4 separate regions of the Homo sapiens genome follow, and regions 2, 3 and 4 are each linked to region 1. The links are contacts of gene promoters, found by promoter capture Hi-C in blood cells and fetal thymus (Javierre and others, 2016). All regions are on one chromosome and are shown on one strand. The core of a region is centred on a gene start or on the middle of the fragment in contact, and the rest is flanking DNA. Distances in the headings are between cores, read along the strand shown. Region 1 holds the start of USF3 (upstream transcription factor family member 3). Region 2 holds the start of GTPBP8 (GTP binding protein 8). Region 3 overlaps RMP64 (ribonuclease MRP subunit p64). Region 4 overlaps NEPRO-AS1 (NEPRO antisense RNA 1).

The links. Contacts are between HindIII fragments. The CHiCAGO score rates a contact against its expected background, and 5 or more counts as called.
Region 2: a fragment that was not itself captured here is called in contact with the fragment with the promoter of USF3 in region 1 in 1 of 17 cell types (fetal thymus); the score reaches 5.2 in fetal thymus.
Region 3: a contact is called between a fragment that was not itself captured here and the fragment with the promoter of USF3 in region 1, in 1 of 17 cell types (fetal thymus). The highest score is 6.2, in fetal thymus.
Region 4: a contact is called between a fragment that was not itself captured here and the fragment with the promoter of USF3 in region 1, in 2 of 17 cell types (neutrophils and monocytes). The highest score is 5.6, in neutrophils.

What each region holds. Positions count from the first base shown.
Region 1 is chr3:113,693,037-113,700,229 of GRCh38, reverse strand. USF3 (upstream transcription factor family member 3) reads left to right here and starts at 3,588. Exons shown (of 7, transcript NM_001009899.4): 1 at 3,588-3,860. RefSeq lists silencers at 3,378-3,847, 3,868-4,257. The HindIII fragment of the contact is 8,785 bases long and covers 1-4,526 here.
Region 2 is chr3:112,984,579-112,991,771 of GRCh38, reverse strand. It overlaps GTPBP8 (GTP binding protein 8), which reads right to left and starts at 788. Exons shown (of 6, transcript NM_014170.4): 1 at 437-788. The coding sequence starts at 772. RefSeq lists enhancers at 531-740, 619-1,246. The HindIII fragment of the contact is 2,477 bases long and covers 2,488-4,964 here.
Region 3 is chr3:113,000,964-113,008,156 of GRCh38, reverse strand. It overlaps RMP64 (ribonuclease MRP subunit p64), which reads left to right. Exons shown (of 9, transcript NM_015412.4): 9 at 2,153-5,713. The coding sequence ends at 2,621. GTPBP8 (GTP binding protein 8) reads right to left here. Exons shown (of 6, transcript NM_014170.4): 6 at 6,188-7,193. Among named protein-coding and RNA genes, the nearest start is that of GTPBP8, 14 kb to the right of the region's middle. The HindIII fragment of the contact is 1,036 bases long and covers 3,578-4,613 here.
Region 4 is chr3:113,048,362-113,055,554 of GRCh38, reverse strand. All of the region lies in intron 1 of NEPRO-AS1 (NEPRO antisense RNA 1), which reads right to left. LOLI1 (lncRNA oncogene in liver cancer 1) reads left to right here. Exons shown (of 3, transcript NR_189285.1): 3 at 3,850-4,642. Among named protein-coding and RNA genes, the nearest start is that of RMP64, 32 kb to the right of the region's middle. RefSeq lists an enhancer at 3,852-4,031. The HindIII fragment of the contact is 1,464 bases long and covers 1,766-3,229 here.

The DNA of each region.
Region 1 (7,193 bases), core at 2,339-4,838:
TGGCAAGTGCCTGTAGTCCTAGCTACTTGGGAGGCTGAGGCAGATTCCTTGAGCCCAAGAGTTGAGGTTGCAGTGAGCTATGATCATGCCATTGCACTTCAGCCTGGGCAACAGGGTGAGACCCTATCTCTAAAAAAATAATTAAAAAAAGAGAGCTGGCCATTCACTTATTCTATTCAGAAAGCAAAAGAATGGCTTCTAAAGAGAAAATACAAGCCTAACACTTTGACAGAGAAGTGAGAGTTAAAAAGTGACCGGGCGCCGTGGCTCACGCCTGTAATCCCAGCACTTTAGGAGGCCGAGGTGGGCAGATCACGAGGTCAGGAGTTTGAGACCAACCTGACCATTATGGTGAAACCCTGTCTCTAATAAATAATACAACGACGAAAAATTAGCTGGGTGTGGTGGCGCACGCCTGTAGTCCCAGCTATTCGGGAGGCTGAGGCAGGAGAATCGCTGGAACCTCGGAGCTGGAGGTTGCAGTGGGCCGAGATCGTGCCACTGCACTCCAGCCTGGGTGAGAGCGAGACTCCATTAAAAAAAAAAAAAAGGCCGGGCGCTGTGGCTCACGTCTGAAATCAGCACTTTGGGAGGCCAAGGCAGGCGGATTGCCTGAGGTCAGGAGTTCGAGACGAGTCTGGCCAACATGGTGAAACCCCATCTCTACTAAAAATACAAAAAAATTAGCCGGGCGTGGCAGCGTGCTCCTGTAATCCCAGCTACTCAGGAGGCTGAAGCGGGAGAATCGCTTGAATCCGGGAGGCAGAAGTTGCAGTGAGTCGCCTGGGCGACAGAGCAAGACTCCGTCTCAAAAAACAAACACACAAGAAAAACTAAAAAAACCCAGCAAGCTACAGGAGTCGAGTGGTTCCGAAAGAGAATCAGAGGGCAAGAAAAGAAGACGGGGTGAAGAAGACAGGAAAAGGTGAAGGAGGCGGGCAAAGGTCACCTGGTGTAAACTTGGCTGCCCAGCTCTTTATGCACTCAGGGCAGCATGGGAGCCCTGTCGCCCCGCGCGCATCTACGGGCCTGGCAGCCGGGGACGCGGGGCAGGCGGGGAAAAGAGGGGTGCGCACCCCGCGGGCGCTGGCACCCCCCAGGTACCGCACACAGTAGTCCCTAGGAAGGAGGCTCACTTTGCGCGTTCTTGCCTCCTGGAGCAGGATGGGGGTGGGTGGAGCTGAGGCCGGGGCCTCCCCGCAGCTCTGGCCGCCGCCCCAGGCTTTCAGTAGCCTCCTCCCGCAGTCACTCATCTCCAGTAGTAGGAAAAAACGGAGGTCTTGATATGAAACTGGGGATGCAAGGAAGTACTTATATATCATGCAAATAGTCTTTCAGCACCATTGAAAAGTCTCAAGAATGTGGGTGAAAATCAGATTCACTCTGTCCACTTGAAAAAAATGAACTAACAGCCCTATAGACCAGTTTCACTTGGCCAGTATATTTTACCACCAATATAGGTCACTGTAAGCACTGCCAGCTAGTTTGAAAATAGGACTGGTGTGATTATCTGAAACTGATGTTGAATGGGTAAAGCCAAAAAAAAAAAAGATCTCTGGGCTTCAGCCCAGGAGTTGAAGATCAGCCTGGGCAACATAATGTGACCCCCATCTCTATCCAAAAGAAAAAAATAATTGCCGGGCATGTGGTTCCAGCTACTTGGGAGGCTGAGGTGGGAGGATCGCTTGAGTTTGGGAGGTGGAGGCTGCAGTGAGCTGTTACAGTGCCACTGACCTTCAGCCTTGGCAACAGAGGGAGACCCTGTCGCAGGAAAAAAGAAAAGAAAGAAAACAAAGGAAAGGAAAGGAAAACAAAGGAAAGGAAAGGAAAGGGAAAGGGAAGAAAAGGAAAAGAAAAAGAAAAGAAAAGAGAAAAATCCCTGTTTGGGATTTAGGCTACACTTAGGTAATAAGGATTAATTTAAAAAGCTAATATTCTGATCTTTATCAAACGGAAATTGTTCTTCTTTTCTACGTCTATATCGTGCCAGAAATATATTAATGTGTATTTTTTAAAGGTGATCTAAAGGAATGGTTAAATTCTGTTTCATGAATCATCAAAACTATTTGTTTTTACTTTAGAATTGATGCATTGCAGTTGTTTAGGAAATCATGCACACCCTGGATATGATATTTGTTAACGAGAAATACCTTGTATTCTGAACACACTGGAAATTGTTTCCTATGGCTGAGCATACCAATACTATACAATTTTATGGTGATGTTATTAGCATTGCTATTATGGCTCTGACTCGTAGAATCTTTCTTATCTGCAGTTTTGATTTGGATGTGCCAAGTCTGTTCAAAGGCTAATTAGAACTTCGTGTGCCTAGATGGATGAGTTAAAGAAAATTTCTAGCCTGTTTATTAGTACCACAGTTTATAAGCAACATTACAGGCCTTCCGTTTCATCATAGCTTTTCAATCTGCTGTACAAACATAAGACTCCGTTACTGTTAGCCTTTACCCTTTTGCTCAATGCGATGTCTGCTGCTTCTGTATACAGGCTCAAGTAATTCCCATTATGCCATGCCCTGTGTGCACCTTCTGGAAGTTAGCCCACGGACATCTAAGATCTGGGATATTTCCAAATCTGGTTGTGGAAGGGCTTGGAAATCTATAACCGCAACTAGGTGGAGGACACCTGTTTCAGCAGGAGGTTATAAAATATGAAGCGAAACTAGGAAGAGGGAGTTGTGATCACGGTTCCAAGGGCTCCACACAGATCCTGGAGTTAAGGGGCACTCAGGTCTCCATTTCGTGACCCCTGGCCCTACCTCTCCTAGATCCAGGTATTTAGTAACCCAGGCTTGAGATCTCAAACCCCATCCCCCAATGCCAAACTCCCTTGTCCCAGCTGGGAGGCCCCCAGGGCATTTCTGAACATGGCCATCTCCAATTCACAGAAATCTGTGTGTTGTTGCAAATAAAGGATGACAAGAGACCACAGCCTACGAATGCGAGCAGCGTCAAGTCAGCAACAATCTTCCAGTTATCGAGAAGTCGGAAACGTCTGATTCTTTCTTCTCCACATTTACTAAGACGTATCTTCTCACCTTCCTGCCCTCCACGTTAAGAGGGGCTAACTATTCCGAAAGACTTCCGTGCCCTCTTCCTTTTCAATTTTTCCACTTCCAAACTCCTACCGAAAGACGAAGAAAAGAGACCACAGAAGAAGATACAAAGAAGTTTCTTAAAACACCTTCTTTTCTAGGTTCTCAAGGCGTCCCCTTTAAGGAACCAGGCCCACCTCTTTCCCATTCACCTACTGGCTTTCCTTCCTGTCCGTCACTCTACCTTTAAGAATATTTCCTGTTTCTTCAACCCAACTTGCACACCTCCGCCCCCCGGCCCTCCTCATTGGGCCGCCCGATCCCCGTTCACTCCTTGGTTTCCTCTCCGCCTCCTCCCGCCCTCTAGCGTAGTGCAACGGCATTCTGTCTTCTTATTGGCTACCACGGCAGCGTTCCCGCAGCCTGATTGGCGGGTTGAGTGAAAGAGGCGGGAACGCGGCGCGCCCAGGGTAGGCTGTTCGCTTGCTGAGCTGCGGCCGCGGGAGGGGCGGGGAGGGGCGGGGGGAGGGGGGCTGGGAAAGTTGAGGCCGCGCTGCCGCCGGGTCTCCGGCCTTGAGGGCTCGGGCTCGCAGCGGCTGCGGTGGCCGCAAAAAGAGGCGGCGGGGGCGGGGGGAGAGGAGGGCCTGGGCCCGCGCTCCCCCAGCCCCGGAGGAGCAGGCGGTGGCCGCGGACGGAGAGATTCGCCCAGACGGTCAGACACTCCTGCCTTCCCCTCCTGGGATCATGACCCAGGCGGGGGTCGCCGCCGTCGCCGCCGCCACCGCGGCCGAGACCGCGCAGCCGGCGGGTAAGTGACTGCGGGAGGGGGCCGCTGACAGCCGGGGCGGGGGGCGGGGGCCAGGGCTGCGGGGGCGGCTCCGGAGGGCGGCCCCGGGCTCAGCTCCACCCACCCCCTTCCTGCTCCGGGAGGCCAGGGCTGCGCTAAGTGCGCCTCCTTCCTGGGGACCCTTGCGTGCGGCACCTGGTGGGGCGTCAGCGCCCGCGGCGAGCGCACCCCTCATCTCCCGCCCGCCCTGCGTCCCCGGCTGCCAGGCCCGTGGGGGGCTCGCACTGCGCCCCAGCTCCTAGATGCGCGCGGGGCGAGAGGGGCCCCACGCTGCCCTGGGTGCATAAAGAGCTGGGCAGCCAGGTTCACACCAGATGGCCTTTGCCCGCCTCCTTCACCTTTTCCTGTCTTCTTCATTCCCCTTCTTTCCTTGCCCTCTGAATTTCTTTCGTACCCGTTCGTCAGACTCATGTGGCTTGCTTTTTCCCTCTCACCCCTCTGTCGAAGTGTTAGGCTTGTGTTTTCTTTTTAGAAGCCGTTCTTTTGCTTTCTGAGTAGAAGCAGTGCAAGTGAATGACCAACTCTTGAAATCTACTTTCATGTATCCGGATGAAATATAAGATTCCTGGACTCTTGTTCATGTTTACAATTTTGATAGTTGAATTCACCCCACTCGTTCTTGAAGCTTGTCCTCCCAACCCTCCTCGTTACATTGGGATATGGTCCTTTGCGTTTATTAACTTTATCTGGAAATATGAGACTGCATAAACCAAAGTGCAGAATTTCAACTTCCGTTCTTGTAACATTTTTACCATCAAGTAGATACAGTAACCTAACACCACACAGATCAAGACAGTCGTGGCCAACTGTGTAGGCAAAGAAGACATTTCCTTACCTATAAACAACGTACAGATTTCTTGAATAAATCTTACGGTGAGTTACATGGATCCTGAAACATATTCCCAGGTTTGCTCTTTTGTAAAGAAAACCAAACAGACAAACCTGCCTTTTGAAGGATCAACAGGCTGTCCTACTCTCCATTCACCTTGATGACTTTTTTCTCTCCCATAGAACTCTTGTTTAACATAGTACAGAGTTGCTGTTTGGGATACATGTGTTGTTTCTCTTTAAGTACTCAAAGTATTTGTTACAAAAGAAGTAAAATACATTGTAATTGCACTTCTGAAAGCAGAAGTAGTGTAATGTATCCATGCAAGAATGAATGCTTAATCCTAAAGCAGTTTTGCTTTAGCCTAAGCCAAGCTTTTCCAACCCCCGTCCAAGGACGGCTTTTAATGCGGCCCAAGACAAGAAGACAAGTTCGTAAACTTTCTTTTATTTTTTTTGAGACAGAGTCTCACTCTGTCGCCCAGGCTGGAATGCAGTGGTGTTATCTCAGTTCACTGCAACCTCCGCCTCCTGGGTTCAAGCAATTCTCCTGCATCAGCCTCCTGAGTAGCTGGGATTACAGGTGCATGCCACCAGCCCAGCTAATTTTTATTTCTTTAAGTAGAGACAGGGTTTCTCCATGTTGGCCAGGCTGGTCTTGCACTCCTGACCTCAGGTGATCCGCCTGCCTCTGTTTCCGAAAGTGCTGGGATTACAGGCATGAGCCGCTGCGCCCGGCCTCAAATTTGTAAACTTTTTAAAACATTATGAGATGTTTGTGTGTGATATTTATTTACTTATTTATTTAAGCTCATCAGCTATCGTTAGTGTTAGTGTATTTGATGGGTGGCCCAAGACATTTCTTCTTCCTGTGTGCCCCAGGGAGGTCAAAAGATTGGACACTCCTGGTCTAAGCTAAAAGACTTAGGTGTACATAGGTATTGGGATCTCCCTGTATTTAGGAGTTTTGCAAAATCTGGATGCAGCCTAGAACATTCGCTGATATAAAAGGAGTGCATTGCAGGGATGTAAGAGCAGCTTAGAATTGAAGTACTTATCTTCTAGGTTAGTCGTCTATGGAACATCGTGGAAGTAAAATTCTAAGGTTGTAGACCTTACACTCAATGAACCAGTCATGTATGAGAAATTGATGGGTACTTTTCCTATTTTCAGAGCTTAGCCTTGTCAACAAGGGAAAAGAAACACTAAGAAAACTGAGAATTTTTAACTCAGGTTAGAATACAAGCTTCAACAGGTAATCAGCTCAAGTTTGTTGCTTATAAACAGGGTCTTAAATCAAGCTTGAGCCTTAATCATATCTGTCATGCTTTACCTCTCTGTTCTCTAGTCCAGTAGTTCTCAATCCAGACTGTACATGAGCATCACCTTGTGTGTCTTTAAGTTTTAATGCCCAGGCCACTTCCCTCAGAAACTCTCTTATTTTTGATCTGGAGTAAAGCTCTGCCATGGGCATATTTTTTAAAGCTCTCCAGGTGATTCTGTTCAGTAGCCCTGGCTGAGAACTCCCATGAGACTACGTCCAAAAGCTAAGCTTGTGTTCTGGGCTTTCCTAAATCAGGCCTCACTCATGTGTCCAACTTTCCCCCCACTGCTTTTGCTACAGACGTTGACGTTGACCTTTCTCAGGATATGGACACCTTTCCTCTATTCCTCCCTACCGCCAATAATAGTTCTAATTACACTTTTATGAAAGTTTTCTGGATAGCTTACTCTAGTTCTTAGTGATCGACCCCCTTTGAACTTCTATGCTACATGGTTAAAAGATTCTCTTTAGGCTTACGGTATGTGGCAGTTTAAGTTCTATGTGTATGTGTTTCATTGTTCTCAAATGTTATGCTAAGGAATATTTTATTTTTCATCTCTTTCACAGTGGTTTTAAGTTGGATTGGTTTGGTTTGGAACCCTTCTGACTCTTCCTGCAACCATAGTTTTAGGTTTGATTTCATCTTAGGTATGTTAGTAGCTTCATCATACCTTAACTAGCATTGAATTCCTGTATAGACATCCGTTTTTTTCATATCTTTTCTTAATTTCATTAGTAGATGATTTATCTTCCGTGGCCCCGTAACAGTTGTACTTGTTTCTGTGCTAGCACTTAGCACACTGCCATAAGTATGTGTTTATATGCCTTCCCCACCATACTGCTAACCAGGGCCTCCATGTTGAGCAACTCCAGGGGGTACCATTCACATATTCTTGAATACCATTGCAACATGGCAGAAATAGAACTCCACTAACATAGGAAATGTGTTCTTTTTATCTTTGTATTTTTGGGACCTAACATTGTATTTGTGATTACTAGGCAGTTAATAAATGTTCTTAAATGAGTAAATGACTGCCATGTTATATATTATAAAAAGATAGCCATATACATCTTGAACGTAAGTTGATTTGGCATTAATTGATTTTGCTATTAAATATTTTTATGTCCTATACTCCTATTAT
Region 2 (7,193 bases), core at 2,477-4,976, 710 kb after region 1:
TCACTGTCTAAATTCTGTCTAATTTGTCTGGCATGTTTTCCCTACTTAAGTTAAATAGAAGAAAAAAGGAGAGTTAATTTTTTGAATGCTTAATTTGGGTTTGAAAAGCTTTTAAAGCATTTTGAAGTCTTCTATATTCATTCCAAAATAATTTAAGCTGTATACAGGCAGTCTCTGCTTACAGTGGGTCGACTTAACGATTTTTGACTTTACCATGGGTTTATGGGTATTGACTGCATTTTGTACTTAACAATGGGTTTCTCGGGTATCCCCACGTACAGGGAGCATCGACATATGCCTATTGAGTTAAAATAATATATGCGCCAACATAAAGCTAGAAAATACAACCGCAAAATCACCCGCGAGCCGGACGGCCAGGGAAGCGGTTAGCGCTGTGACGCCGGCGCGCAGGTGAACCGTGAGAATCGCCTCTCACCTCTGGCCGCGGAAGGTCCGGGGCGTGGTCGATACGGACGGCGGAGCTGACGTAGTCGATGCGGTTCCGTTCAGTGGCCGTGAAGATGTTGTCCGCCCTGGCTATGTCCTCCGGGCTTGGGTCAAAGATACGCAGGTGAAGGTCTTGCCTCCCGTAGGGGGCGAGGAACCGCTCTACTTCCTGCAGCGGGTACAGCAGCTTCCTCAGCTGCTGCTTCGGCAGCCGCAGCACCTCAGCAAAAGCTTGGGACGTGCTATTATAGCGGCTCAGTCGCTCTAGCACCGCAGGCATTTCAAAGAGTCTTCCCGCTCCCAGCCGCAGCCCGGGCGCCGCCATTCTCCCTTCCCAGAAGACGGGCAGAGAGATTTTACTCCTGTGGCCTGGGTTGCGCGTGCGTGACTTCCCGCTGCCGCGACGCCTGCTGGGAGTTGTTGTCTCCTCTGGCCTCGCTCGTTCCGGTCTAAGTGTTTTGCCTTCAGTGCGCGGGAGGAGGGTGGAGGCAGGCGGTGACCTGCGGGGAACAGCTCACTGGGTTTCTTTAACACCGTGGGCTTAACGATTATGTCTTACTGGAAGGATGTTTAACGGTTTGCAGAGGTGAAAGACCTATCTGGCCATGTGGCCTTTGAGTCTCAAGCGAAGGACTAAAGTGTGAAGCTCCGATGCATTCCAGGAACGTTTGATTTTCACAGTTTTTGGTTATCTTATTAACTGTTGACGTTTGTCGTAAGTCCGCAGCACTAGGATAAACACTTTTGCAAAAAAGAAAAGGGCTGATGAGAAATGTGATTGTAATAGCACCTCGTTTTCGTGGAAGGGACTGTTTGTATTTCCGCCTTCACTATAGGTGCAGGAAATGTCATTAAATTTTAGAGATTTCTTATAAAAACAGTTTTGCACAGATGTTACAGAATTGTTTCGTGGACGTTTCGTAATATCATCTTATTTCAAAAGTTTCTCCCTAAAGTCGATCAGTACTGAAATGGGAGATACAGGTATCATAATGATGAAATGAATAACTGAAAAATATTCATATGTTAAAAAAACTAGGTTTTCTAAAACATCAGCAGCCCAGAAAGGGTAACTCATGGTTTCTTGAGCTATTCCCCAGGTTGTTCAGTAATTAAACAGTACAATTCTTGAATAAATATGATACAAAAATTAATGAACAGAACCTGCGACTTTGAGGGCAGCCAATACGGCAGCCTGATGTGCTGCTGGCTGGCTAATTTTTTATTGCTCTTTGCATTAGGGTTTGGGGTGCCTTTCTGTTCGCTATTCTCTCTCCTCCATGTATAAAAGTGTGTATAATACTCTGTTGTATACATCAGAAATTTGGGATTCTCATTAGTGTGTGTTTCACTCATCCATGTGAAGAGATCACCAAACAGTCTTTGTGTGAGCAACAAGGCTGTTTATTTCACCTGGGTGCAGGTGGGCTGAGTCCCAAAAGAGAGTCAGCAAAGGTGGTGGGATTATCATTAGTTCTTATAGGTTTTGGGACAGGCGGTGGAGTTAAGAGCAATGTTTTAGGGGCAGAGGGTAGATCTCACAAAGTACATTCTCAAGGGTGGGGAGAATTACAAAGAAACTTCTTAAGGGTGGGGGAGATTATAAAGAACATTGATCAGTTAGGATAGGGCAGAAACAAATCACAATGGTGGAATGTCATCAGTTAAGCTGTTTTCCCTTCTGTGGATCTTCAGGCCTTCTGGATGTATACGTGCAGGTCACTGGGGATATGATGGCTTAGCTTGGGCTCAGAGGCCTGACGCTGTGTATGTAATATACTTTGAAAGTGCTTTTATACATGCCATTTTGTTTTCAAACCTTGGAACCCCAGGTTTGGAAATAAGAGCATAAAAGAGTTTTGGCGATTCTTAGAAAGGTTTTAGAGGTGTTCCGGGATTAATAGACATTATAGTATTCATTTAATAATCATTCATGTTTCTGAATTCTAAATCATTTTGGATTTCACCTGATAGGACAAATCATTTTAGAATTATTTGACAGGACAGTTTTTGCAACAAATTGTCTTGTCATGCAAAGCTTGAAGGATCAAACGGTCTACTGGAAAGAAGTATGACTAGTAAAACCACTTGACAATTTATATATTTTTTTCTCTTTCACTTCATCTTTTAAAAGCATCTGTGTAAACAAAGCATATAAAACTTCAGGATGATTTAGAGTTAATAATACACTATGTTTTCCCTCAACATGATTAAACTCATAATTTGCAGAAGTTCAAATATGAAACATACATAGCAGTGAGACCTACTAGTGAGACAGGTGAGGGCTAGAATTGGGAGGAATTAGTTTATAATAACCCCATTGTAGGGCTGCAGTGGAAATCATCTGGTCTACAGGGAATTATCAAAGCCCAGGAAAAGAGGCTCACACCTGTAATCCTAGCACTTTGGGAGGCCAAGGCAGGAGGATCGCTTGAGCCTGGGCAACAAAACGAGACTGTCCCTAAAAAAATAATAAAAACAAAATTAGTATTGAAGGGAATCAAGTCTGGTGGATAGGATGTTGTGACAGGACTTTCTGGGTTCTGGCAATAGTACTGTGAATCTGTTGTTGTTGGCAGCATCTTGGTTCGAGGTGGTCTTTTTGTGTGTGGAGTAGGAGCTTAGCCAATAAGTGTAGATTGGGAGTCAGGATCTAGCCTGCTAGATCAGGACTAGGTCAGGGCTAAGATTCAGAATAGGGTTTTAGTCCAAGTAGGGAAAAGAAGGACTGTAGATTAGAAAATCTTGCTGTCTAATATGCGCCTCCCATTTCCTAGGTCCAAAACAGAATTTCTAATATCCTTTAATTGTCTCCTAATCTGTAAGAGACAATGGCACCTCCATTCCTCCAATTGACTTAGCTGAAAATCTTGGGAGAAAATTCTGGACTCCTTTTTCTGTTACCCCAAGTCCAAGTTGTTAGCAATCCCCTTGGCTTTACCTTGAAAACATATCCTGAATTGGATACTTTTTAGCACATCCACTGCCACCACCCTGATACAAGCCACCATTATCTCCCACCTAGATTATTGCAGTAGCTTTCAAATTGATCACCCACCTTTGCCCTTTGCCCCCTTCAGTATATTTGCAACATGGTGATAGGGAAGTGGGGCAGGGAAGTGGGGCAGGGAATTGTGAGGAGAAGGGCAGGTCCCTGGCTAGAGCTCCACCCCCGGCCTGTGCCCACGGACCTAGGTGAGGACAGGCACTTCTGGCTTTGTGCCCAAATGTTGCATTTCCCAAAGCCACCCAGGTCTGCCACACCCCCATCCTGTGCCTATAAAAACCCCGACACCTAGCAGGCAGACACACAAGTGGTTGGACCTTGAGAGGAACACCTTGGTGGAAGAAGACACGAGCTGCTGGATGTCAAGAGGACGTCGAGGGGAGCAAGCTGCCCACCAGCAGGCCATTGACCAGTAGAATGATGCAGAGTTTGGCCGGGGCGGTTGGAGGGCTGCTGAGTGGCTGAACTCCTGGGGAAAACCATCTCCCTTCTGGCTCCCCTATCTGCTGTGAGCTACTTCCAGTCAAAACCATGCACTCATTCTCCAAGCCCATGTGTGATCCGATTCTTCCAGTACACCAAGGCAAGAACCCAGGATATAGAAAACTCTTTGTCCTTGTGACAAGGTAGACGGTCTAATTAGCTGGTTAACACAAGCTGCCTATAGATGACAAAACTAAAAGCGCACACGGTAGCAGATGCCCACTGAGGCTTCAGGAGCTGTAAACATCCACCCCTAGATGCTGCCGTGGGGTCGGAGCCCCACAACCTGCCTGTCTGTATGCTCCCCTAGAGGTTTGAGCAGTGGGGCCCTGAAGAAGCGAGCCATTCCTTGTCACATGCCCTTCGAGCGGGACAAGAGTACTTTTCCCATTTCAGTGGCAGCAACCATGATCCTGTTAAAACATAAGCTAAACCTCCAAGAGCTTCCTGTCTCACTCATAGAAAAAGTTCTTGCACTAACCTAAAAAGCCCTACATGAACTTTCATTTTCTTCTTCCACTCTTGTCTGACTTCATCTATTGTTATTTTTCCCCTTTTCTACTCCATTCCAGCCACACTGGCTTCCTTGCTGTTTTTCAAGCAAGCCATATACACACACCTGCCTCTGTGTCCTTGTACTTCTCCCTGGAATGCTTACCCCAGATAATCACATGGCTTATTCCCAGTTTGACTTAGGATGTATTTATGGCCAACCTTCTGAGAAAAAGTGCCTTCTGTTTTGATAACGAGGAGGTAGTTTACCACAAAGTTAACAAGGTTTTAAAAATTTAATATGACTTTGACAGGCGTTACTTTATACATCATCCCCAGAATCAGCTTTTATTGCTAAAATTCATCTGCCCTAAATGTCATAGTTATACTCTGTCATGCTCAGCTAAGAATAGAAGGAAGATAGGTAGGACAGGATCCTCTCAATTGTTCTTACTGCGATGTCTGCCTCTATAGTGAATGGCCATTAGGTCCAGAGTGATCCCAATTTATGTCCAGGTCCTATAGGTTTCAAGCTTATGGAATCCATCTAAGACATGAAGAAGGTAAACTTTGTAGGCCTAGATAGGTAGGGGCACTGGGAACATCAGATAACTCCCATCCTAAGTTAAACATGGTTTGAATGTCCTGACAGAAGCAAGAGCAGGGACTCTAGCAAAACTTACTTCTAGAAATAGAGAGAGGGAATGGATTAGGTCTCAGTGTCTGATTTCCACTAGACCTTTCTTACCCTGACTTTTCTGCTTGTCTTAACAACAATAATGAACATTTATTGGGTGTCTGCTATGCCAGGAATTTATCTGAGTACTGATAAACTATGAGAAAGACCTGGTTACATTCCAATTAGGATATCAAACTCTTGTATTAGGAAGAAAATATTGGGAGAAAGGAAGATGAAAGAGGCTTTATATGAAGGAGCATGATATGGGAGAAACTTCCACATAAATTACTTAAATTGTGATGACTACTATCTGAATGAATGATTTAAATTTAAAATACAATTAATTATATTTTTCTTGAGTTTTCTGTGCAACATTCATTTTAAAATTTTACTTTAGATATTACCTGACACATTGACACAAATTTGTGGCACAACAAGTTTGATTTGTTCACCTAATTTCTTTCTTTTTTTTTTTAGAGACAAGGTCTCGCTCTGTTGCCCAGGCTGGAATGGGCACAATCATGGCTCACTGTAGTCTCAACCTCCTGGGCTCAAGTGATCTTCCTGCCTCAGCCTCCTAAGTAGCTGAGACGACAGGCACTCAACCACCCTTGGCTAATTTTACAAAGTTTTTTTGTGTGTGTGTGCTTTTTTTTTTTGGAGAGACAGAGTCTCACTATGTTGCTGAGGTCAGTTTTGAACTCCTAGCCTCAAGAAATCATCCTGCCTTAGCCTCCCAAAATGTTGGGATTACAGGCATGAGCCACCACGCCCAGGCTTAATTTCTTAATTAGGGCATAAATTATTATTCTTGAGATTTATTATTTTACTATAATTCAAGAACCAATAGAGACCTATTTTCCATGATTTTAGTCTTTGGAGCTCATGAAAGCATTGAGCTTTTTAAATATCTGATTAATGTGTCTTTAGAGAATATATCTAAATTTAGAGAAGTTGTTTCTTTTTCAGAGAAGTTGTTTGAGCTTTCTTTTAAGGTTGTGCCTACTGCACTGACAGATTTCTCTAAAGAGATCTGGAGATTAACCATCAGACAGTAATCATAGGTAGGAGGTGAGTTTGTAGAGTGATTTGGATTCTGGAGGAGGAGTAAAGGTTCACTTCTTTCAAGGTTGTTTTTATCAATAGAGGGAGAAATGATTGCTTTAAGTGGTCTTAATTTTTTTCATTCGTAATTTTGCATTTGGCTCTGTGTCATACAAGTGCTATTAAAATAATTTGGAACACTATTTACCATATTCAGGTTGTGTTTTTATATCAGTAACAAGCTCAGAGGGTTTTTTTAAAATTGTTTTTGGAAAATAGTATGGATTTTGCTGTTCTGACTGATTAATTCGTTAACATTTTAATTCTTGTTGTGTGTTAAGCAAGGTTATTTTAGTGGGCAAGTTTACTTTGTAGTACACATCTAGTTTATATCTTGTTGCCTTGTTGGAAGTGAATGGAATGTTCTCTAACACCCTGAGGAGATGAGGCAACATTCACAGGCAGATATATTGATGTATATTCAAATTTTTAACTTATTCATAGGTAGAGTGTGTCAGGTGTTCCCAAGACTAGCTCCCAAATGAGGCGAGCAAGGATGCACAGAACTCAGCATATAGTTGTACTTATGCCTATAATTTACAACAACAAAAGAATACAAAGCAAGCCTGGCAAGGGGAAAAGGCACTCAAAGTGAAGTTTGGAGGAAGCCAGGCACAAGCTTCTAATTGTCCCCTAAGTTGCACAGGATGCAATTAATTCTGCCAGCAATGAGTTTTAACAACATGTGTGAAATGTTGTCTACTAGCAAAGCTCACCTGAGTCTAGGAGTCCAGGGTTTTTACCGAGCGCTGTTCATATAGGCATCTAGTGCCTGTGTGACTGACTATAGTCACTGAAAGTTCAGATTTGCAGAAGGAAAGCAGCATCAGTATGTACCACTTGTTTGTTCAAATAGTTTAGATACAGTGAGCCACTCATGAATGGAAAGTTGGCTCTGTGCCATGCAAGGAAACTGTTTACCAGTCAAGTTCTCAAATGTCAGCCCAGTGCCAATCTTGTAAACAAATCTTTCTAAGGGTA
Region 3 (7,193 bases), core at 2,846-5,345, 690 kb after region 1:
AAAATTATGTTACTTTACTTTTTCTGTTGTTGTTATGAGTAAAAGTATTCAGGTCACTTTTCTTTAAAATGTGATGTCCAGCAGCCGCAGCGGGGCTAAATTGGGATGTACTCAAACTGCAATTGCATTTGCTGCTTTTATTGTAAGAGCAAAGCTGTATCATTGGAGGAAGAAGATAAACAAGTTAATTGGACTTCAGTCCCCGTTATGCTCTTCATCATTTCCATCAGCTCATTCAGGAACCATTAAGAGTGTCTAGTGTGCTGAGCCTGAGGATACAACTGCATAAAGACGTGACTTGGTCTTCAGGGAGCTCAGGGTCTTCTGGGAAAGGCAGCCCTTCTGCAGACAGCTTCAGTGCAGTGCAGTGGGATAAGGGCATGAGAGCAGAAGCAGAAGGTGCCTGCCTTCCATGAGGCCCACACAAGACTGCTGGGGTGTTGTACTGTTGCTACTTGCTACTGTTTGTAGCAGCTGGACTCTATCTATATTTCTTTTCTGTGATTTTTATATTCACAACTGTTTAAGGGTGCTTATCTTTGCTTGTGAACCAGTATTGCATGAAGTATTACATGAATTTAGACATTAGACACTTCAGGGCTTAACGGTAATGATTTCAGACACAAATATGTATTAAGAGCCTATTCCACCTTCACAGAGGCAATTATTCTGACCTGTTTTTTATTGTATTCTTTAACAAATATCCTGTGCATGCCCCATAATTTCTTATCCATAGTTTAGAGCTATTCAGGGATTTAAAGTTCATTCCTGGGGATGAACCACGTATTGAAAATTTGTTAAATTTTCTTTTAAAATTTGCATAAAATATATTCCTGTTTTAGAAAAAAAAAAGTATACAGTGAGGGTTTTGTAACACATTTTGATTAAAAGCTATGGGGAAAGTGGTTGAATATTCCTGAGGGATAAAGTGCTTGAGGGGTTTTTACATTGAGATGGCTCCTCTAAAGGTCTGTAATAATCTAAAAGTGATGTATCCTATGGCTGGAGACGCAGCCTGAGATGGAGAGAAGCATTCTGTTTAAAATTGGGTTTAAAATCAAGGGTAGATGAGGCAGAGGTAACAACTAAAAGTTAATGAGAAGGGTAGCAAACTGGTGTTTATTGGTTAAACCATTACTCAGTACTCCCCCAGATATAGTGCTCCTTCATAGATTGCCCTGTTTTGCTGTTTCATTAATATATTTGTAGTAAACTTTATAATTTATTTAATGTCCATAATAACATTGTGAGGTAGACAGTATTATTCCCATTTCATAGATGGGTAAATGGAGGATTTTGCTCAAGGGGTTAGATGTGGAACTCAGTTCAGGCCCTCTGTTTTCCTTTCAACTCTGAAGTACACCCACCTTCTCCCCACTTAAAAGCCACTGCTTATAGTGAGATAAGAAAATGGTATGGAAGCAAAGATCATGATTTACTTTATTATAATGGGCTTCCTCAAAGTTTTATATCCATGCCCGTCTTTTAAAATCTATCACAAACAGTGAAACAATTCAGCAAGGCACTGATGAACCTTGTGGCAGTGTACCGTGTGTGGAAGCAAAACACCTAAAATGATCAGCTGTTTGATTTCTGAATTTCCAAACTTGAAGATGACATATGAATCATAATTAGGGTAGCTTAAGGCTGTCTGTGTATCTGGGCCAGAAGCCCTGTCTTCATATTGTTTTATAAACCCCTCTTAGCCTTTATTCCTTTTTCCTTGTTCATTTCCTGCCACAGCATGAAGCTGATTATCCAGATTCGGATTAATACGTACTGGCAGATTTTTTCATTTGTGATGTTTCCTCATGTCCACTCATTACATTATGAACAGATTAGCAGTTATGAGGGAAAAGCTCTGACACTAAAGTATAGGGTATCTCGCCATTCAGCTAATTGCTAGGCGGCTGTACTTTTGAGAGTTTGAAAGCAAAATGGGGACACATTCGTCTACACTTCAATCAGAGGGCATTTGTGCTCTCAAAAAACAGACTTGGGGTGAAATTTTTCGATGTGGTTCTGGGATTGTACACAGGCATAGGACTTGTAGATAAGTTGTGTATTTTTCTTTTCAGTTGGTAAATTAAAAGTGCTTGAGAATGTTTTTCTCATCTTAAGCCCAGATTTTTCCTCTCTCTGTCTTTTAAAGTTTGCCAAAGAAACTAGAGTGCATAAAAACGTCTATTTGCAACCACCTTCTTCGTGGCTCAGGTATCAAAACTTCAAAGCATCATCTGAGACAGAGAAGATCACAGAATAAATTTTTACGGAGACAAAGGAAACCACAGAGAAAGTTGCAGTCGACTCTTTTAAGGGAAATTCAGCAGTTCTCTCAAGGGACTCGGAAGAGTGCTACAGATACCAGTGCTAAGTGGAGACTCTCACACTGTACTGTGCATAGAACTGATCTCTACCCTAACAGTAAGCAGCTCTTGAATAGTGGAGTTTCAATGCCTGTCATACAAACTAAGGAGAAAATGATTCATGAAAATCTTAGAGGCATCCATGAAAATGAAACTGATTCGTGGACGGTGATGCAAATAAATAAAAACAGTACATCAGGAACCATTAAGGAGACAGATGACATTGATGATATTTTTGCTTTAATGGGAGTTTAGATGTTCGTTCATATGTGAGACTTTTAAGTGATTAACAAGGCTAGTTCAGTGTTCTAAGTAGAACTGCTAAGATCTGGAAGTACCACCTGGACTCACAGAGGAGCTGCTTTAGTGCAGCATTGCACAGGAGTTCATTTCAGTTCAGTCTACATTTAAAGTAGCATTGTGTCATTTCATCAACAAGTATTTCTTTTTTGGCTTCAACTACATGTCAGGTGTTAATATGAAAAATCTGCCACAGCCTACCCTTGAGAAGCAGATGTAATTCCTTGAGTGAGGCTAGTAAGTCTCTGAAAAACTGAATAATTTTATGACTTACTAGGCAATTTAATAATCGTTTGCAAAAACCATTGTGTCTTGAGGTAAATGAGGAGCGGGGGTGGGAGATAGCAAGGAAACACCTGAAAGGTCAATTTGGTCTTATTGGCTCCATTATACATAGGTCCGCCTCTGAATACTAAAGTTTGTAGCTCCTGACATTTATGTTTTCTTGTTTATATGTTGGAATTGATCAACAAGGTTTGCCACTGCTTGTATTACCAGGGACTGGTTACAACCATTATTTCTCTTCATTTGCTTGGCTTATCTCATATTAAAGTGAGTTTGGAGTTCTCCAAAACGTTTTAATTTTATTTATTTGGGTACCAGTGATTGATTCCAAATAAACCTTTTTACAAAAAGGCAATAAGGTGGTTTATGGTTACATATGAAATATAATAGGATAACAGGTAGATGAGAAAGTAAAATGAAAAAATGAGGTTAGGAGATACAAAGTAGACCCAGGAATGAGGCTAGAACATTTATAATTTGGTGTTGATGCTGTCATCTGATAGGGGATGTTGCTCGTACTGTTGCTCTGAGGGGAGTACATCTTGAGTATTTTCAAATAATGATGTGAAGTTTGAGGTAGGTATCTTTCCAATGTTCTAACTTTACTAGAATTAGGTTATTAAGCTTCTCTAGTGCCCTTAACTTTTGTTACATAGAGATTTAAAGAAAAAGAAAGTAGTACCTTAGTATGTACCGCATCCTTCTTTTCCTCAGCCACCCTATCATAACAGAAGTTATTTCCCTTCCATTCTTTATTTGGCTTTGTTCTTTCCCTGTCTGCCTTCTCCATTTTCTCAGTTATCTCTACCAGTGGTTCTCAAACTTTAGACTTTTTGAGAATCACCTGGTGGGTTGCTAAAAGATGCAGATTAGCCCTTTCCCAGAGACTGATAAACAGGGGCCAGAAACCTGCATTTTTAACATGGAGCCCAAGTGATTTTGATCCAGGTGGCCCCCAAATCCAGTTATATAAACACTACTTTAGCTTCTCTCCTGAAGCCTTAAGTAAACTGGTTTAATTCTTAATCTGTAGTCAGTTTTCATATTCCTTTTGGCTTTCTACCAAGTGGTAGTATCCATTTAGTGCCTTAAAATACAGACAATACCAAGGAGATTTCATTCTAGACAAGTCTAGAAATGGCCATTAACTTCTAAGTGTCCTTGTGTTCAATGAATATCCTTTACCTATTGGGAAATAGAAGGTAAATTAGTAAGAGAACTGGTGTATAGCTTTGTGGACCATAGGGCTTATTTGCTGAGAGTTGTCTATATTCATGCACCCAGTCCCCTAAGTAGCCTCTTTTAATACTTCATTTAGCTGATTCAGAAAAAAACTCCCTGGGAATTAGGAGATTTAAGGTTCAGTCTTGCTTCTCCTACTTGTGGCTTCACTGAGCTAGTCAGTTTCCTCAGGCTTAGGTTTCTGGATTTGAAGTGGAATTTTTTCAAGAATGAAACTTTTATAGCTGAAATAAACTTTGGAGCTTATCTTTCATTGGAAAAACCAGGGTGGTTCAGTGAGTTAAGGACAATATAGCATGGACTGGGCTGCCAGTCTAGCATTTGTTTCCAAATTCATTCATGTTCTTTTGGAGTATCTTCATCTCCTCTCATTTTCCCATCTTCTGCCCTTTACTATTCTGGGAAAATGGCAAAAAAGCTTCACATGTGTCCACAAAATGACAATTTGTATGTTTATAAGGAATTCAGTATTCTGTATCAGTTACTTTTTCCAAATAAATCCAAATATTTAACATTTAAAAAAATGCAATCTAAAGTATACCAAACTGTAACTTACCTAGTAAATGAGATTAGAAACTATTGTCAGGGTCATCGTAGTGAATTATTATTATTATTATTTTTTGAGACAGAGTCTTGTGCTGTTGCCCAGGCTGGAGCACAGTGGTATGATCTCAGTTCACTGCACCCTCCACCTCCTGGGCTCAAGCTATTCTCCCACCTCAGCCGCCTGAGTAGCTGACACTATAGGCACCACCATGCCCTGGCTAATTTTTTAAAAACTTTGTGTAGAGATAGGGTTTCACCATGTTGCTTAGGCTGGTCTCAAACTCCTGGACTCAAGGGATCCACCCACTTTGGTCTCCCAAAGTGCTGGGATTACCCACATCCTAGTACCAACTTTATCACTTCTGATGGCATTAGGACACACAGGCCATTTATAAGAGCAGTGTTTGAGACCTCCTGTGTGTCACTTCCAATCCTCTTGGCCTTCATACTAAAGTCACTGCTGTGGCAACCAGTTTCAAGCAGGGCTGAACCTTGCCTCTTGCTCTGGGGATGTCTCACTTCCTGCCCCTGGGCTTCTCACCAGCTACAGGAACTGCCTAGCACTTGGGTATGTACAACCTGGAAGAGGTGTGGGGCCACCCCATCCCCTCCTCAAAGAAATTCACAGGCACAGTATGAGGCTAAAGTAACTTCCATCTTGGATGCTAATCTACCATGTTGACTTCTGATAACCAGTTCCTGGAATGCCCTCTAAGATTTCTACTTTTATCTATTAAAAGAACACACACACACACACACACTGTAAATCCTGGCCTTAAGCAAGTTATAGGCTAAGTTGTAAACAGCATTCTTGCCTTTCCCTGAGGAGGTGACTTCAGTGTCTCACATGTTCCTTCATGTACCCCCTTTTCTCTATGGCATATAAGCCCTGGGTCGGGGGGTAACTGTGGGGATCACTGCCTGAGACATGGCTTCTGTGCATAAGTCCCTATTAAATGTTTCTTTCTGACAAACTGGATTTGTTGGCCTCTTTCTTTGGCATCTCAGCACTCTCAGCCTTTGGGGGTAGGTTGCATAGACCTGGTCACTATACAACACATATTTCCTAGGACTTGTCACAAGTTCCCTCAAGATCTAGCACTAGTGCCTATGTTTTGGCTAACTCAATGAATATGTTGTTAATAGGCTTGTCTGTCTTGTTTCATTTTGCCACTGTTCCCTGGGATCACTTCCCAAATTTACATATGTAAGCTTTTGGCTCAGGCTCTGCTTATAGGAGAACCAAGGATAAATCAAAGCAGTGAAGTAACACTGGCAGACAAAAAGATGACTTCTAAGATAATTCTTTTGTTACTATATATTTTATGAATGTCTATATTAAAAAATCTTTTTTTTGGCTGAAAACATTCCTGCTTAGATTAGACCAATTCTGTCAACTATAAAACTGACAATATATTCAGATTGTTTTCTAAAGAAAAGCCACGAAGTTGGTTTATAGCTTTAATTTGTTATCCAGCAATACAGCTATAACCTTTTAATATTAAGCTTCACTTTGAAAACCTAAGCCACTTACATGAATAGGTTAGTGGCACCTTCACAAAAATCTTCTCTATTAACTTTAGTTCAAAGGCTTTATTTTTCCATTCTGAATCTTAAATGTAGCAGTCTAAACTGTCCCATCAGCTTTTTTCTCTTGCCCTTTACAAATTAGTTTTCTCACTTAAAGCTATTTTTGTTTTTTGCTTTTTCACTAGTGAAAATGTTACTTCCCCCATGAAAGGACATTTCTTGTAATAAATCTACCTGTGAATTTTGCTATATTTCTTTGTTGGTTTGGCTTTACAAATATGTAGCTGTCTTCTCACATGTTACCTGCTGTAAAACCATTCATTTGAATCTTAATAGCTTTCACGTTTACAGTAACAAATGAATTTCCGAGAAATCAAGTAAGTTGCCCAAGATCCAACATATATAATAAACATCAGAACTAGAACTTGAATTCTGTTCTTTCGGTTGTTTCCAACATGGACTAACACATTTTATCAAGAATGTTTTCAATATTCAAATAAGGACTCAAAAAAATAGGCTTACATAGTAACTTTTATCCATCAACTTACCTATCGATGCTTAACAGAAAAGCAGCCCCCTTTTACCTAGCCCATTTTAACATTTAAAAAAAAAATACCCATAGTAGACATATTCTTTAAAAGACAAAAGCCCAATAAAACGTCAAACCCTTCTGTACATAGTTGTAACAGGTTTTCATTTTATGGATGTGCTCTTGTCAGTTTGTTAAAATAGGGGAATCAGCTAGTAGCTGTTCTAATGAACACCATAATTCAATAACTTACAAACTTTTTTCACCTCAGGCACAAATTCTTGTTTCGAGAAGGCACAGGTTTTAAAGCTCAAGTGATCCTCCTGAAGTTACAGATGCACAACATTTAAAACAATGTTGAAATTCTTCTAGGTATTTAACTCCAGTTAGCATAA
Region 4 (7,193 bases), core at 1,248-3,747, 640 kb after region 1:
TGTCAAAATCCATTCTCTTTCTGAATTTACCCACACTTTTGTCTGGATATTAACTCAGTGTTTTCAAGACAATCTCTGATTTTTCTCTTCAATGTAACAAATTCTTACTCAATACTTAGTATGAGTATGTGCAAGTCACTGTATGAGGAGCTGCAGAAGTAGAAAGAGGAAGAAGTCTTTGCCTTCAAGGAGTACAATCTAACTTTAAGAGGAGACCATTGGGGATAAGACAGAAAGTTAGGAGAGTTAGAAAAGAAGATAAAAAAGCAAGGGCTCTCTCAGAAAGAAGAAACCACAGCATGTGTGTTGCATGTGTGTTTTGTGTGTGTGTGTGAGTGGTGTGTGTGCATGGTGTGTGTGTGTCCAGGACTGTGAAAAGTAGAGGTGGTGTTTGAGGAGGATTTTGACAGGGAGAAAGGAGAGCAGAACTTTCCAGGTGAAGAAAACAATTTCCACAGTGATGTAGAGATGGGAAAATACCATGCATATTTGGAAAAATAGTAATCCAGATTTGTGGGAACATAAGGTCTAGTGAGATCTAGTCTAACCAATTAATCTACATGATGAGAACTAAAATCCACATGTTTCTTTAGGAAATATAGTAAATGGTATAGCTTAGGACTTTGTCTTACACTTTAACAAAGCAGAGTGCTGTATATATTTATTTGTCAGATCACACACACACACACACACACACACTCTCTCTCTCTGTCTCTCTCTCTCTCACAGAGACATGCATGGACAGAAAACCATGCTGGGTAGTATAGTTACACAGACCTTGCTCTTGAGAAATAGCCTCTCGGGAGAAGGAGGGAAGGGTGAATAAATAATTGCAACATCATATGGTCAACACTATTAGTACAAGTAAAGATGTGTGCAATGCCCACAGCAGCCTAGAGGAGGGAAAGTTGGCATAGATTGTAAGGAAAGCTATGTAGGATAGCATTTGATTTAGGCCTTGGAGAATAAATACAAGTTTGTCAATGGAAAGGGGGAAAGCAGGGTGTTTTAGGTCAAGGGAACAGGAGTGAAAGGTGTGTGTGGTGTGGTGGGGGAGTGTGGGTAGAGCTTGAGAAAATGTGTTCATAGCAGGGAAAGTTGTCTTGTGGGACAGAGCAGTAGTCCTCAGTGCTGGTGATTTTGCCCCCCAATGGTTCTTCATGGGGGTGATTTTGCCCCCCAGGGTACATTTGACAATGCCTACAGACATTTTTAAATTGTCACACTCTTGCACGGGGAGGGTATGTTCTACTGGTATCCAGTGGATAGAGGCCAGAGATGCCACTAAATATCCTACAATGCACAGGATAGTTCCTACAACAAAGAATTCTCCCCTTCAAAATGTCAACAGTGCCAAGGTGCAGAAACCTCTGGCTAGAATGTAGTAGTCCCAGAAAGAAGCAGAAGGAAATAAGATTGGAAAGATAGATTGGTGTTAATTTGTAAAATGCCTTAAATGCCATATAATATACTGAAGGTTTCCAGAAAAGGTAAACATTGTATTTTCATTGATTTAATTAGTCTCATTCAATTAAACAATATTTGTTTATAGTATAATTCAATAAAAAGTGATAATGCTTATAGGTGACAAAAGAGAATTTTCTTTACAAAATTCTATAATTTTAAGCCTTGAGGTCATTTGAACAGAGACTTTCTAATGGAAAAGCATCTATTTGAATCCTTTCCCTGGTTAGTAGCTGGATTCCTCTGCCTCCGGCCACTCCTCCTGCCTCCACTCAAGGTATCATGGTTATTCATTGAAGCTTCTGGCTGAGTTGGCCCATAAAGCACAGGGCTGCTCAGGCGGACCTGGTCTCTTTAAGACTGTGACTAGGAACTCATCACTTGTTTAGAGTCACAGCTAGGTGTGGGTTCTCAGGAAAGACTGGCTGTGGTCCAGGACTAATACAAGATGTTTTGAACAGAAGTCTGGGGATCACTTTTTCTAAGCCTTATTTGTGTTGGAAAAGTTGAGTTCATATTATCATCACTTAATTGAGTCCTTTTTTCCCATACTCTTCCATTAGGAACCCCTGCGTCACCCCCTGAGTGGGGTATTAGACCCACTTTATAATGAAGAGGTTGATAATTGGCAGGAAGTTACTTAGGAAATACAGTGCCATCTAAGCCTATTTTCAACCTTTTGAACAAAGGTATCCGCCCAGAAATAATTTCCCAATGTGAAGGGGAGGAAGAAGATTATAGGGCACACCCTTCCTTCAGATTAAAGAAGGCTGCTTACTAAAGTTTGTACACTAGTGGTTCTCAAATCGTTAAGCTCAGGGAACATTTTCAAAATACTGGGATTTCTGATGGCACACTTAATGGGATTAAATGGAATCCACTGTGATTATCATACTACAATGGCATTCATACATTAAAGTTAAAAGGATACAACCTATGTGCCCAGAGAGAAAGAGAGGTTACAATTGAAAAAGTCAGACCATCCTCCCACCTTTCCACTCAGAAAGTGTATGCCCCATGGTAGGTTTGCCAGGTAAAATACAGGAGGCCAAGTTCATTTTGAATTTCAGATACATAATGAATATTTTTGAATATAAGTTTGTCCCATGCTAAACTCATTTATCGGAAATTCAAATGTAACTGAATACCTTGTATTTTTATTTGCTAAATCCAGCAACCCTCCTGAGAGAGCGTTAGATGGGAGTCTTCCATTCATTCCACCAGTATCTGTGCCCACACACTTCTCCTGGGTGAGCTTCTTGCTCCTTTAGATATGATTGTTGTTAACGATGCATACAACATGGCCCCTAAATCCAAGCCAACTACTTCAGCTAGTGTCAACCTAAAGAAATCACAATCTGTGTTAATGCTGGAGGGACTTACTGAGAGACGGTATGTTTGTCTCTGATATGGTACATTCCCTAAGTGTTTTTGTTATTTGGCAAACATTAATTGAGCATCAGAAATGTTCCGGGCACTTAGGATGGAACAAGAAACTAAACATTGCTGTTCTCATGGTGCCTACATACTTGTGGGAGGAGACTGTTCGATGCTCATTTTTATCCCAGAGTTGACCTGAGTTAGATGTGAGTTCATGTATCAGCTGCAACACACTTTAGGACCTTGTTATTTGAATACCTCTGCTTTCTGCCCTGATTATGTTTTCTCGTATATTCCTGAGGCAAAGTTCTTTCTATGCCAGCATCTCCCACAGTAGACCTTATGAAGATAGACAGCAATAAATACTGGTGTAAAAGATAAAGCTTTTAGGAACATGACTCTCTTAACTGAAAACTTTTTGTGTCTTGGCATGTGTGCATGTGCTTATGTGTGTTTGTGAGTATACAGATAATGCACAAATAATGGGTTTCCTGGAAATGTTGGTTGTACAGAGACTATCTTTCTTGATCATTTTTGTCCCCAAAGCAAGCACTTGAAAGAATTCAGTAACAACTTCTTGAGCAGAAAAGATGGCCTCTGCTCAGAGCTTGGTGCAGCAGCAGACACTGAAATGTGGCTTGGCTCTGTCTCTTGGCATAGTTCTAGGGTGTTATGTTCCACGAGAGGCCTTGGAGGGAGGAGGCACTGGTACCTTTTCAGAATCTCGTCAAATCAGGCACAGACTTGCTGGCAGCCACAGCAAAGGGATCTTACTGATCTTTGCCCAACTCTCAGGAGGTAACTGGCAAGACAGAAGAAAGCAAAACAAGCAACCAAATCCGAGGCCTTATAAATTTGACTTGGAAATTTTGTCTCAAGGCTGTCAAAGAGTAGAAATAATGATTTCATTTTCTCCAAGTCCCATTCTTGGGCATTTCGTATTTAACGCAGATAAAACACATTCGAGTACCTATCAACTTTTTTTCTTTCTTTTTTTTTTTTTAGTCTAGCCGTTCTCAGCATCAGGTGACTCTGCTCCTTGAAAATACATTTAAGTGATGCCATTCCTGTCCAAAACCACCACTGACTCCTTCTTCAGAGGGCAAGCCTTGAAATCATGTGCATTTGCCTGTGAGACGTTTCTCCGATTATCTGAAAATCTTCTGCCAGGGATAAGGCGATTTGTCTCCATTCTGTCTGAGGTTGCGGATCTTGGTTTGCAGAGGAGGGCTGCAACGTAGTAGGTTCCTCCACGTGGCTTCTCACTGAAGCCAGAATGACTCATTTAGAGAGTAATCTTGGTGCGGCCTCTTGCTGCCCTCTGGTGGAGAAAACGGGTATTGAACAAGCCATAACGACTGATCTCTGAGGCAAATGCTGTGAAGTGTCAGCGCAAAGGTCCACGGGGAATAATTACACTTCAAGCTATTATCTAAATGAACGGAGTTCATCTAAATGAATGGAGTTGGAACGGTTGTTCTATGAGAATCTGATTTCTCAGCAAGAGAAGTTTTAATTCCATCCCCTTTTTATTTCTGTTTGCTGCGAACTGGTTTCTCATTTCTCCACACTTGCTCTTCCTTTTCGTGAACAATCATTTTGTGTATTTTGAGATCATTATAAAATTCTTGTACGCTCATTTTAAAACATTTCCAGAAAGTGAAAGTCAGCATGTGACCCAGGAAAATTCTAATTCTTAAAACACTCAAGACTCTAAACTAGGGTTTAGACCTATATATTCAGATCTAATTCCAAACCAAAATTCATTTCAGAAGTTTAAATAAAACGTATTAGTCTTATGCCTTCTGAGTCTTTGATTCAAATGAGAGGCTTCTTTTTTTATTTTTTTATTTTATTATTATTATACTTTAAGTTTTAGGGTACATGTGCACAATGTGCAGGTTAGTTACATATGTATACATGTGCCATGCTGGTGTGCTGCACCCATTAACTCGTCATTTAGCATTAGGTATATCTCCTAATGCTATCCCTCCCTCTTTCCCCCACCCCACAACAGTCCCCAGAGTGTGATGTTCCCCTTCCTGTGTCCATGTGTTCTCATTGTTCAATTCCCACCTATGAGTGAGAACATGTGGTGCTTGGTTTTTTGTCCTTGTTGCGATAGTTTACTGAGAATGATTATTTCCAATTTCATCCATGTCCCTACAAAGGACATGAACTCATCATTTTTTATGGCTGCATAGTATTCCATGGTGTATATGTGCCACATTTTCTTAATCCATTCTATCCTTGTTGGACATTTGGGTTGGTTCCAAGTCTTTGCTATTGTGAATAGTGCCACAATAAACATACATGTGCACGTGTCTTTATAGCAGCATGATTTATAGTCCTTTGGGTATATACCCAGTAATGGGATGGCTGGGTCAAATGGTATTTCTAGTTCTAGATCCCTGAGGAATCGCCACACTGACTTCCACAATGGTTGAACTAGTTTACAGTCCCACCAACAGTGTAAAAGTGTTCCTATTTCTCCACATCCTCTCCAGCACCTGTTGTTTCCTGACTTTTTAATGATTGCCATTCTAACTGGTGTGAGATGGTATCTCATTGTGGTTTTCATTTGCATTTCTTTGATGGCCAGTGATGGTGAGCATTTTTTCATGTGTTTTTTTGGCTGCATAAATGTCTTCTTTTGAGAAGTGTCTGTTCATATCCTTTGCCCACTTTTTGATGGGGTTGTTTGTTTTTTTCTTGTAAATTTGTTTGAGTTCATTGTAGATTCTGGATATTAGCCCTTTGTCAGATGAGTAGGTTGCGAAAATTTTCTCCCATTTTGTAGGTTTCCTGTTCACTCTGATGGTAGTTTCTTTTGCTGTGCAGAAGCTCTTTAGTTTAATTAGACCCCATTCGTCAATTTTGGCTTTTGTTGCCATTGCTTTTGGTGTTTTAGACATGAAGTCCTTGCCCATGCCTATGTCCTGAATGGTAATGCCTGTTTGAAGATGACATGATTGTATATCTAGAAAACCCCATTGTCTCAGCCCAAAATCTCCTTAAGCTGATAAGCAACTTCAGCAAAGTCTCAGGATACAAAATCAATGTGCAAAAATCACAAGCATTCTTATACACCAATAACAGACAAACAGAGAGCCAAATCATGAGTGAACTCCCATTCACAATTGCTTCAAAGAGAATAAAATACCTAGGAATCCAACTTACATGGGATGTGAAGGACCTCTTCAAGGAGAACTACAAACCGCTGCTCAAGGAAATAAAAGAGGATACAAACAAATGGAAGAACATTCCATGCTCATGGGTAGGAAGAATCAATATCGTGAAAATGGCCATACTGCCCAAGGTAATTTATAGATTCAATGCCATCCCCATCAAGCTACCAATGACTTTCTTCACAGAATTGGAAAAAACTACTTTAAAGTTCATATGGAACCAAAAAAGAGCCCACATCGCCAAGTCAATCCTAAGCCAAAAGAACAAAGCTGGAGGCATCACACTACCTGACTTCAAACTATACTACAAGGCTACAGTAACCAAAACAGCATGGTACTGGTACCAAAACAGAGATATAGATCAATGGAACAGAACAGAGCCCTCAGAAATAACGCTGCGTATCTACAACTATCTGATCTTTGACAAACCTGAGAAAAACAAGCAATGGGGAAAGGATTCCCTATTTAATAAATGGTGCTGGGAAAACTGGCTAGCCATATGTAGAAAGCTGAAACTGGATCCTTTCCTTACACCTTATACAAAAATTAATTCAAGATGGATTAAAGACTTAAACGTTAGACCTAAAACCATAAAAACCCTAGGAGAGGCTGTCTTCTTAAGACTTTTGCATACAAGTTACATTTCAAGAGAATACGCTTATTTTTTAAGCTCTAAACATGAGAAAATTCTCAAAAAGTATATCCAGGTAGAAGCATGCAATTTTAATTAAAATCTACTACTACTCTTCTTAGAATCAAGGAAAAATTTTGGAGACTAGAATGAGATATTAACACATTATGCATCAGTGTATGACTGATCTTTCAAATGCGTTCCAGTGCCCTCTAGAGCTGTTGTGCTTTTTGAATTAAGAAATTCTTCTTTTTTTTAAAATTTTTATTTTTTTGAGATGGAATTTCGCTCTTTTTGCCCAGGCTGGAGTGCAATGGCATGATCTTGGCTCACCGCAACCTCTACCTCCCAGGTTCAAGCGATTCTCCTGCCTCAGCCTCCAGAGTAGCTGGAATTATAGGCATGCGCCATCACGCCTGGCTAATTTTTGTGTATTTTCAGTAGATATGGGGTTTCTCCATGTTGGTCAGGCTGGTCTCAAACTCCCGACCTCAGGTGATCTGCCTGCCTCGGCCTCCCAAAGTTCTGGG